Linked DNA regions of Homo sapiens: region 2 is linked to region 1. The links are contacts of gene promoters, found by promoter capture Hi-C in blood cells and fetal thymus (Javierre and others, 2016). All regions are on one chromosome and are shown on one strand. Each heading gives the region's core, a stretch centred on a gene start or on the middle of the fragment in contact. The rest is flanking DNA. Distances are from core to core; before and after follow the strand shown.

What was found. The method cuts DNA at HindIII sites, captures the fragments that hold promoters and counts their contacts. A CHiCAGO score of 5 or more calls a contact.
Region 2: a contact is called between the fragment with the promoter of H1-6 here and the fragment with the promoter of H4C6 in region 1, in 1 of 17 cell types (monocytes). The highest score is 5.4, in monocytes.

What each region holds. Positions count from the first base shown.
Region 1 is chr6:26,236,246-26,242,160 of GRCh38, forward strand. H4C6 (H4 clustered histone 6) reads left to right here and starts at 4,148. Exons shown (of 1, transcript NM_003540.4): 1 at 4,148-4,548. The coding sequence starts at 4,181. The coding sequence ends at 4,492. RefSeq lists enhancers at 3,775-3,874, 4,335-4,384. The HindIII fragment of the contact is 5,393 bases long and covers 2,268-5,915 here.
Region 2 is chr6:26,106,471-26,111,986 of GRCh38, forward strand. H1-6 (H1.6 linker histone, cluster member) reads right to left here and starts at 1,665. Exons shown (of 1, transcript NM_005323.4): 1 at 942-1,665. The coding sequence starts at 1,623. The coding sequence ends at 1,000. The HindIII fragment of the contact is 5,524 bases long and covers 1,292-5,516 here.

The DNA.
Region 1 (5,915 bases), core at 2,898-5,397:
CTTTATCTGTTAGTTTGCAATACAGCTGATGGAATTAGGTTATTATTAAATAATTAAGCACAAAATTGATATTCTCCATCAAGTAATCAGATGCTGAAATGAACTCCTATGTTGAAGAAACAAGAGAAGTAGTTTGATGTTATGTTTCTTCTAACAAAAATACTCATTTCAAAAAATCAAGTTATTCTGGCCTACACTCAATAGTGATTAGAGGATTTTTTCATATAAATCCTAGATAAAATAATCAACTTTAAAGATGTCATCTCTCCTCATTCAACTAATTTCATAAAAATTACTTAGCTTGTCTTGGCCAGGCGCAGTGGCTCACGCCTGTAATCCCAGCACTTTGTGAGGCCATGCTGGGCAGACCACCTGAGTCAGGAGTTCAAGACCAGCCTGACCAACATGGTGAAACCCTGTCTATACTAAAAATACAAAAATTAGGCGGGCATGGTGGCACACGCCTGTAATCCCAGCTACTTGGGAGGCTGAGGTAGGAGAATCGCTTGAACCCGGAAGGCGGAGGTTGCAGTGAGCCAAGATAGTGCCATTGCACTCCAGCCTGGGCAACAAGAGTGAAATTCCATCTCAAAAAAAAAAATTACTAAGCTTGTCTTAAGTAATTATTTACTCTCTTGCATGTATTAGAAACAAGTCTCTGGGACTTAAGACCGTGTTATACACCACTGAAATACAAATGTGGTTTATAAAAAAGCTAAACTTATAGAATTGGATTAGTAGGACCCCACAATTCCAGTAGGGAAGCATTTTATAGGTTTCTGGAGGCAGGGGCGGTGCATCATTATGGATATCATTTTCAACAGTGATAGTCACAAGCATACTCTAAGTATTTTTTTTTGGGACCATAGCTTTATATTGCCTAGACGTAAAGGTACAATTAAAATTCAGATTGTTTACTGTTTATTATTTTGATCATTATTGTAGTCTTAATAGTTGTTGAATAATTGTTGGAATTGTTCACCGTGTTAGATATAGTCAATTAACAGATGCCACCATTTCATTCTTGTGCAACACTGACTGGTTCCCATAGCTACTTAGGATCTCAGTAAGTAAAAAGGCATTGGGCTAACTAATCTCTGCTCTTTCTGGAGGGCAATAACTGAGACTCAGTTTCACCAACAAAGTTCGCCAGATGTTCAAAGAGGAAAGGGGCTAGGCTACATAAGTTGGGACCTGGTACTTATCTTCTCTGTAATTGTAGCAAGGACAAGGTTCCTGAAAGCTGGATCACCCCATGGACTGTAAACTTGAAGTCCTGCAAAGTTTCACCTATTACTTTGGTAGCCCTCAAAAAGAGTTCTGTGTTGCTTTGGAATCCTAAATCTGAATATAATCTAAAACAGTAGATTTCCCATTACACTGAGGTTGGAACCATTTATTTTATAGATGCAAAAAGTAGCTAGGAAAAACTAGTTAGATAAGTGATAGCTATCTAACTTAAGGCCCAGTGTTCTCTTCATTTTGTGTTAACTCCCCCATCCCCACCACCACCATAGTAAATGACTATGAGAGTTGTAGGTAGTATTCAATAGATCAATCCAGTGACACTGTGCTTAAGCATCACACAATTCAGATTTTAAAGATTTCCAAAAAAAAAAAAAGAAACTATATAGAATAAATATTAAAAGGGGTGAAAACATATATAGACTATTATAGAAAATAAAGCTTTGTGTTAGAATCAAACGTGTTCAAAAAGTCCATGAGAAATCACATCGATTGTAACCGTCTATGAGGTAGTCTTACCTGAGGACACTGGCTCCTTGAAATTCCTCTTCAAGTACAACAGTATTGTGTTAATTTTATTTCCTAAGAAGGCCACTACTATACTCAAACTTACAGTTTTCTCTTTACATGTCTCAGGCATCCACCAAACTCCCTCCTCCCTTCTAGACTGGATTAGAAGCTCTTCAGAAGAAACCCCCTTATCACAGATACAGCCCAATAAAACTTTCTGCGATGATAAAAATATTCTGTATTAACACTGTCCAATAGGTAGCCACTAACCATATGTGGCTACTGAGTACCGTAATGTGGCTAGAGTAAGTGTGCAAATTAATTTTTAATTTAAATTAATTTAAATAAAAATGAGCACATGTTGCTAGTGGCTAATATAGGACAGCAGAGCTTTAAAACAATTATTCTCAAACTTGGAAGAGCATACCTACCACCCACTTAGAGATCTCATTAAAAATGTAATATCAATTCCATTGATTTGGGGTTGGGCCCGAAATTCTGTATGTCTAACAAGCTTCAGAGTGATGCCAGTATAGCTGGGATATGGCTGCTCCGCCCTTAAATACCTGACAGTAAGTAGAAGTATGCTGGTCTGATATCTGCCCCCTAACCCTGAGTGTACTTTTCCCTTTACTAAACTTTTGAGTTCTTTAAGAGAATAAATGTGATTATCTTTGTAAACCTGGTATTTGTACACTATTCTTGGCATGTAGTGGACATTAAATTGTTGAATGAATGAATGATGCTTGTTTGGTGCCTACCTCAAAAAGGAGAGCACTTGAGATCCTTGTGTCTATTCCTACAGGTAACTGAACCTAAGCCAAAATTTAAGTAGACTCTTAACTCCACAAAATGAATAATCTTCTCACTGCTTTTAGGCACCAGCAGAGACGGGATTTTTAAGTTACCCTTGCAGTATATAGGAGGCAATGAATGTGAAGCAGTAGACTGTAAGAGTTAATGTTGAATTTTTCTACTACACATACCCTATGATCTGTGTGTAGAACACTTCTTCCGGAATCTTTTATTAGGACAGTATTTCACAGAATTTATTAGTATTATTTTTGTTAATTTACAAACCTTTATTCACCATGATTTACCATGTATGCTTTAGTGGCATGAAAGCAGTGGTAGGTAGCAAGGTAGTGAGACTCCAGAATCGAGCCAACAATACAATGCCATTTATTAGAGGATAATGTCTTCAAGCCTGGGATTCCTTATCTTTACACCTCAGATATTGCATTATACATTGAAAAACTAAGAATGAAACTTCAATTAATATTGGTTTCCCTTACTAGAGGTCTTTCTTTATTAGGAATGCCAAAAACGATGTGAATGTATATGTCTCTGCCAAACGCTAAGTCTCATGATTGGCCAAATTTAAGAAGTATTGCTACATTTTAAGAATTAATAAAAATGGCCGGGCGTGGTGGCTCACGCCAGTAATCCCAGCACTTTGTGAGGCCAAGGTGGGTGGATCACCTGAAGTCAGGAGTTCGAGACCACCCTGGCCAACATGGCGAAACCCCGTCTTTACTAAGAAAATACAAAAATTACCCAGGTGTGGCGACGCGTGCCTGAAATCACAGCTACTCGTGAGGCTGAGGCATGAGAATCGCTTGAACCCAGAAGGCGGAGGTTGCAGTGAGCCGAGATAGCGCCACTGCACTCCAGCCTGGGCAACAGAGTGAGACCCCGTATCAAAAAAAAAAAATTAGTAAAAATACATTTTCAAAGAATCTTCACATTTAAAAATTAAAGCTAGGCGCCTGTAATCCCAGAACTTTGGGAGGCCGAGGCGGGTGGATCACCTGAGGTCAGGAGTTCGAGACCAGCCTAGTCAACATGGCGAAACCCCATCTCTACTAAAAATACAAAAATTAGCCGGGCGTGGTGACGCGCGCCTGTAGTTGCAGCTACTGCAGGGGCTGAGGCAGAAGAATCGCTCGAACCCGAGAGGCGGAGGTTGCAGTGAGCCGAGATCACGCCACTGCACTCCAGTCTGGGGCAGAGCAAAACTGTTTCAAAAGAAATAATAATTTTATTCTCTTGTCTATCCATTCGGTAGACAAGTGTAGCGTTACTGCCTCCTTTTTGCAAATAATAAGGATTTTAGGAGACAGACATTATCAGTTCGAGAGCCCACAGGCACTGGACTAGAAGACACAGAAACCTACACTCAAGACCCAAACAAGGAAACAGGAAGGAGTCAAATCAACTTGCATTTCCCCTACCCTCACCGCCCCCTTTCCTTCCCAAGGCAATAGTGTAGGGGACGCCCAGTAAGTTACGGAAAAGGCGGAGACAGAGGTTTCGTTCCCGCCCCTCCAATTCAGTCTCCAAAAAGGTCCGCATAATTGATATATAAGGGGCTTCAGTGTGTAGCAAAGTTGCAAAAGTTAAGAGTTGTTGTTTGTCTTCGATCATGTCTGGTAGAGGCAAAGGTGGTAAAGGTTTAGGAAAGGGAGGCGCCAAGCGCCATCGCAAAGTGCTGCGTGACAACATACAGGGCATCACGAAGCCCGCCATCCGTCGCTTGGCCCGACGCGGCGGCGTGAAACGCATTTCGGGCCTCATTTATGAGGAGACCCGCGGTGTTCTTAAGGTGTTCCTGGAGAATGTGATACGGGACGCCGTAACCTACACGGAGCACGCCAAGCGTAAGACAGTCACTGCAATGGATGTTGTCTACGCGCTCAAGCGCCAGGGACGCACTCTGTACGGCTTTGGTGGCTGAGCCTCACCCCGGCTTTTTATTTAACAGCTCACCCATAAAAGGCCCTTTTCAGGGCCACCTCCTTCGTCACACGAAGGGCTGTAACTGATGACGACTTGGGTTTCGTTTTGTAAATTTGGGATTCTAACTGAGTTAAACCGAGCCGTTTTTAGCGATCTTCCTAAGATGGCGGATGTGCTAAGGAGAAAGGGAAGGCGAAACATTAGAAACTTGTTCAGGTATTTCGATCGCAAACATTCACAGGAAAAGATGGTGGAAATGGTTTGGGAATACCAGCAGCCTTTTATGACGTATGTGATGTGTTTTATTCCCACGTTTCTGAAATTTACTCCTATGTTAGGTGGCTGGGACTTAACTACACTAGCATTACATGTTTAGTTTTTGAGATGGAGTTGCTCTTGTCCAGGCTGTAGTGCAATGACGCAATCTCGGCTCACCGCAACCACCCCCTCCCGGGTTTAAGCGGTTCTCCTGACTCAACCTCCCGAGTAACTGGGGTTACAGGCATGCGCCACCACGCTTGGCTAATTTTTTATTTTTAGTACAGAAGGGGCTTTTCTGTGTTGGTCTGGCTGGTCTCGAACTCCCGACCTCAGGTGATCCGCCCTTCTTGGCCTCCCAAAGTGCAGGGATTGCAGGCGTGAGCCACCGTGCCCGGCCTTAGTGTTATTTATTAGGCATAGAACGTGAGTAATCTTAGGGCGGCTGTGGACAGATCAATTACTGGTAAACTTAATCCACTACTTGTGTCCGGGCGCGGTGCCTCAGGCCTGAATCACAGCACCTTGGGAGACCACGGCGGGCGGATTACTAGAGCTCAGGAGTTCGAGACTAGCCTGGGCAACCAAAATGGTGAAACTCCGTCTCAACTAAAAAAGTTAAATAGGAAAGTTAGCCCGGCGTTGTGGCGGACGCCTGCTGTCGCAGCTAATCTGCAAGGGCTGAGGCAGGAGAATCGCTTGAGCACGGGAGGCGGAGATTTCAGTGAGCTGAGATGGTGCCACTCCACTCCTGCCTGGGCGACAGAGACCATGCCTCAAAAAAAAAAAAAAAAAAGTAAAGTTTGGCCGGGCTCGGTGGCTCATGTCTGCAATCCCATCTGTAATTCCAGCAGCTTGGGAGGCCGAGGTGGGTGGATCACTTGAGCTCAACGAGTTCGAGACCAGCCTGGCTAGCACTGCAAAACCTCGTCTCTACTAAAAATACAAAAATTAGACGTAGACGTGGTGACACGCGCCTGTAGTCCCAGCTACTCGGGAGGCTGAGGCAGGAGAATCACTTGAACCCGGGAGACTGAGGTTGCAGTGAGCCGAGGTCGCGCCACTGCACTCCAGGCCTGGGGCACAGAACAAGGCTCCGTCTCAAAAAGAAAAAAAAAAGCCCAAGTTTTTGTCTTACCCAGTGAATTCTTTGTTGGGGCACT
Region 2 (5,516 bases), core at 415-2,914, 130 kb before region 1:
AAGAAACAATAGTTACAATGACACCACAGAAAGACTAGAATGTAGTACTTGTGTTAAAAAAAAAAAAAGTATCAGCAAGTTATGTTTGGATGCCAAATTGCTCTCCACTTCCCTTCCCTGACACTGGCATTTCCAGAACTTAGATGCTCTTACATGTAAAAGCCTCCTCTAGTGCACCATCGAGCTTTTCAGGATTGGACATCAGACTTTTTAGTTCCTGGACCTCTAGATATACGGCAGTCTCTGACAAGAAGCCCTTTTTCTGTTTTAACTTTTTTTTTTTTTAAGTTTTGAGACAACGTCTGACTCGCTGTCACCCAGGCTGGAGTGAGGTAGCACCATCATAGCTCACTGTATCCTTAAACGCCTGGGTGCAGGGACTAAGGGAGCGTGCCAACCATGCTTGACTAATTTACTTTTTTGTAAAACCAGTAGTCTCCAACCTTTTTGACACAAGAGACCGTTTTGTGTAAGACAATTATACCACGGACCAGGGGGTGCAGGGGCTGGGAGCAATGATTTCCGGACTAAAACTGCTCCAACCTCAGATCATCAGGCATTAGATTGTCACAAGGAGCCTGAAACCTAGATCCCTTGCATGTGCCATTCACAATACAGTTTGAGCTTATGAGAATCTATCTAATGCTGCAGCTAACCTGACAGGCGGTGGAGCTCAGTTGGTTAATGTTCGCTCACCCCTCAGCTGTGCGGCTCAATTCATAACGTGCCATGGACAGGGACCGGTTACCGGTCGGTGGCCGGGGAAATGAGGACCCCTGGTATAGATGGTAGTCTGGCTATGTTGCCCAGGATGGTCTTGAAGCCTGGCCTGAATTAATTCTCCAATCTCAAGCCTTTTCAACTCAGCTGCATCACAACTTAAACCTATAGATAACTGTCACAGAAACTTGTTTCCAGTGTTACGCCATCTTAAAATAATGTGGGTGGCTCTTAAAAGAGCCTTTGGGTTCTTTCCAAATTGGCCTCCCGGAAAGCTCTTTACTTCTTAGATGTGGCCTTTCTAACATTAACTTCATGATGTTGGGTCAATTTTGACTTCGAAGCCCTTGCCTTCACTGGGCTCTTCTGCTGTTGCTTACCCTTGGCTCCTTTAGCCTTTCTCCCGCTCCTAACAGTTTTAGGAGTTGTCGCTCTCGGCTTCTTGGCTCTCTTATTGGTTTTAGCAGTCTTTGGTGACTTGGAGTCCCTGGATAAAACCAGCTTCTTGGTCTTGGCAGAAACTGACTTTTTAGCCTTGCTTCTGGTAGATTTAGGAATCACCTTCTTACTAAGCTTAAAGGAACCGGAAGCACCAGTACCCCTGGTTTGCACCAGGATTCCCTTGTTCACTAAGCTCTTGAGGGACAGTTTGATGCGGCTGTTATTCTTCTCTACGTCGTAGCCAGCAGCGGCCAATGCCTTCTTGAGCGCAACCAAAGACATACCTACTCGTTCCTGTGACACTGAAAGGGCCTCGGTGATCAACTTGGACACAGAGAGGTTCGGCACTTTGCGACTTGCACTTATCAAGCCAGCCGGCTTCCTCCCTCGCTTCTTGGTTGGAAGTTTCTCCATAGCGGCTACACCAGCACTGGCAGAAGCTGCAGGCACGGTTTCAGACATAACAACAGAGAAACGCAAGATGTAATAACCAGCGAAAAGCATGAAACACCCGGGCGGCCTCGGGGCCTTATATAGGGTAGGGCGCGCTGTGATTGGTGCATCACCTAGGCACCGCCCCCGCCCCTTGGAGGAGGAGTATTTGTGTTTGTTTTACCCGGAAAAGTTGAGTATAACAAAACCCCTCTTTACAGAATCTCCCAGGGTCTAGTGCTGAATAATCTGCGGAAATTCATATTTGACATGACTTTTCTCTTTTTAATGAAAAATGACCCTGGATGCCAAAACTATTCGAGAAAGCCCTCGATTTTCAATCAAATTCACGGAGAGGAACAAAACTTCCCCTTTTCCTTGTAAATTAATAAGTAATCTTTGGCAGAAGACTTATTTCATCTCTTCAGAGTGGTCTTCCAAATGGATAGCTTCAAATCGGTAGAGGAAAGAAATTATTCACGCCATGATTTTTATTTAAAATTATTTATATATGTGAGGGAAGTAACACAGATCTCTTAGCTGTCTAATTGCGGAGTCAGAAGATGCTTATAGAATTGTCAAAAGACTGCAGAGGATGTCTTTATTTAGGCATGTGCAATCTAATAAATCATAATCCACAGGAACATGGGTTGTCTGTAATTAAAGGTGCTCCCAAGTCCCTGTAGCTTTATAGAGGACTCTCAAGGATGGGGTAATATCAAGATCTCACACATTATGTAAGATTGGCCATAATCAGGCCACTCTCATGACCGGTGTCCTCAACTGAGTTTTGCTTCTGGTTTCATTAATTGAAGTCCCCTCTATCCCCCTGCCCACCCCTACATCCCCAGATAAACAGACACAGTCCCTCCCCTAAATTAACTATAAAACATGAGGTAGGAACCCTAGACTCAAGAACCTACTAGAAACTACAGACCCCATGTCTAACAAGACTGGGCGGGTTGGCTGGGCGCAGTGATTCATGCCTGTAATTACAGCACTTCGGAAGGCTGGAGGCCAGGAGTTCAAGACTAGGTTGGCCTGGTCCCTACTGAAAAAAAAAAAAATTAGCTGGGTGTGGTGGCACATGCCTGCAGTCCCAGCTTCTGGGTAGACTGAAGAGGATCACTTAGAGCCCAGGAGCTTGAGGTCGCAGCTACTGCACTCCAGCCTGGGCAGACCCTCATCTCTGAATTGCTTAATTAATTAACTGAGCTGGCAGATTTGGCTGCATAGCTGTGGGGAAAGGGTTGTTGGAATAATGTCCAGTGTGCTCCCCTGAGCTTCTACTGGAACAGGTCTTTGTGAGAGGCCTGGAGATAAGAGCTTGCTCACAAAGGCTGAGGCCTTTCTGGGATGCTGAATGAGTTTAGTGTGGCCAGAGCATAGGGTCTCAGCAAAGGAAAACTCCATAAGGGCCATTTGTGAAGATCCCCAAATACTTGTGTGAAACATTTGGTAGATATTAGAAGTTTTGTTTTGGTTTGGTTTGAGACAGAGTTTTGCTCTTGTTGCCCAGGCTGGAGTGCAATGGTGTGATCTTGGCTCAGTGCAACCTCCACCTCCCAGGTTCAGGCAATTCTCCTGCCTCAGCCTCCCAATTAGCTGGGATTATAGGCGCCCACCACCATGCCTGGCTAATTTTTTGTATTTTTAGTAGAGATGGGGTTTCATCATGTTGGCCAGGCTAGTCTCGAACTCCCCACCTCAAGTGATCTGCCCGCCTCTGCCTCCAAAGTGCTGGGAATACATGCGTGAGCCGCCGCGCCCGGCAGACATTGGAAGTTTTTAAGCAGAGAATTTGTTGTATTGTTGTAGTTGTCTTGGGTTTAGATTTATTGCATAAACAATCATTTTTGAGAAGGGCCCACAGTCAGAAGTTGGGAGTCTGTTGCAATAGTCTCAGAAGAATGGCAAAGACCTTGCCTAAGGGGACAGTGTGGTAAAGGAGAGAGTCTACATTTGAAATATTTCTGAAACAAAAGCCAAAAGATAAGACTTCAAACTTCTGATTGCAAAGTGAGATAGAAAAGTTTCTTTCTCTCTGTCTCTCTGTTATACCCATACACACACACATATGCACAAACACCTGAAAGAAAAAAAAATTCAGGGAACAGGCCAGGTAGGGTGGCTCATGCCTATAATCCCATAAATTTGGGAGGCTGAGGCTAGTGGATCACTAGAGCCCAGGAGTTCACAAGGCCAGCCTAAGCACATAGCAAGACCCTGTCTCTACAATTAAAAAATTACCCGGGTGTGGTGGCACGTACCTGTGGTCCCAGTTACTCAAAAGGCTGAGGTGGGAGAATCACTTGGGCCCAGGAGGTCAAGGCTGCAGTGAGCATGATTGTGCCACTGCACTTCAGCCTGGGCAAGAGCGAGACCCTGTCTCAAAAAAAAAAAATTTTTTTTTTTTTTCCAGAAAACAATACTATCTTAAGCACCAGCACTTTAGTATATTCTACTGTGGACTAGTTCATTTTTAAAAGAACACTAGGTTGGAAATCATGAGATTGATTCCACAACTCACTAAAGCACCGTGTCACTCAGTTTGGAAAATATTTCTCCTTAGAGAGATTACAGGTGCATCTTTCTGAGCACCTGTATGTTTTTACATTTGTTTGGCTTCTCTGACCTTTGATAATTTCTGAGTGTTGTACTATTAAATATTAGTGGCTAGGGGTCAAATTGTGGATCAGGTTGATCCTTATATTTACAAGTTGACAGATACGTTACTCCATTGCTTTAAAACTAACACAGAATTAGAGAATTTAGAAAATTCTTACATTCCATAATTTAAGACCCAGAAAAAAAAGATTCATATTTTGCATTAGATAGCTAAAATGGTACCATAAAAACAAATGATATCCACATATATATAGTATATAGTGCTTCTTCTGTGCCAGTCACTATCCTAAGTTTTTCTCTCCCTTCCCCAAAAATGTAGGAATTAACTTTATAGATGAAGAAACTGAGGCACAGGAATGTCACATGACTTGCCCAAAGGAAATTCAGTCTTCCTTTTTCAATTCTTTTTTCTTTTTACTTTGCTGCAGGGTCTCGCTGTGTTGCCCAGGATGCTCTTGAACTCCCGGACTCAAGCGATCCTCCTTCTTCAGCCTCTCAAAGTGCTGGGATTACAGGCATGAGCCACTGCGCCCAGTCAGGAAATTCAGTCTTCTAAACATTCATTATTGAAATAATATTTCCATAAACATTTTCTTAGATAAACTTTGGCATCTCTAACTTCTAAGTAGCAAAGTCATGGAAACAGTCACAGAGAAAATAACTTTATTTTAAAAATAATAAATTCTTATCTCCGGTGATAAGAAAAGTATACAGCCCATTTTTTAAAGTATTAATTTTACATTCTAATTTGGTTTTTTTAATGTTTACCATATATTTCTCTTTCTACATATGTGTGTGAGTGAATAAAATAAAGGCATCTACAGATTTTTACATGTTCAGTGAGATTAGCAGGGTTTCACTTGACAGCACTCTTACCATACTCACTTCTTGGCTTTTCCTGATATCTAACATTTTTAAAATGAGTAGTCCCTTTTCATATGATTCTTCCTTTTTCAAGCACTATTTTTGAACTTTATATTTGATTGGCAATAATTTTTACAGACATTATTTTACGATTAACTTTAACTCTGTTCAAATGATTTCTTCATTTTCAAGTATTTTATTTGAACTGCTTTTTTTGGTTCAACTACTGAGTATTTAATTTGTCTGTTTTGTAGAAAGGGTATGTAGATAATTCCATGTTTTGTAAAAGTTGTCTCTAAAAATCTAACAAGTGTAAGTACGATGCTATTACAGGGCTGAGAGACACAGAAAAAACACACACACACACACAAAATTTTTTTTTAAGTATTACTTGGTCTCTAAACTAAAGAATTTACCATCTATTTTGGGAG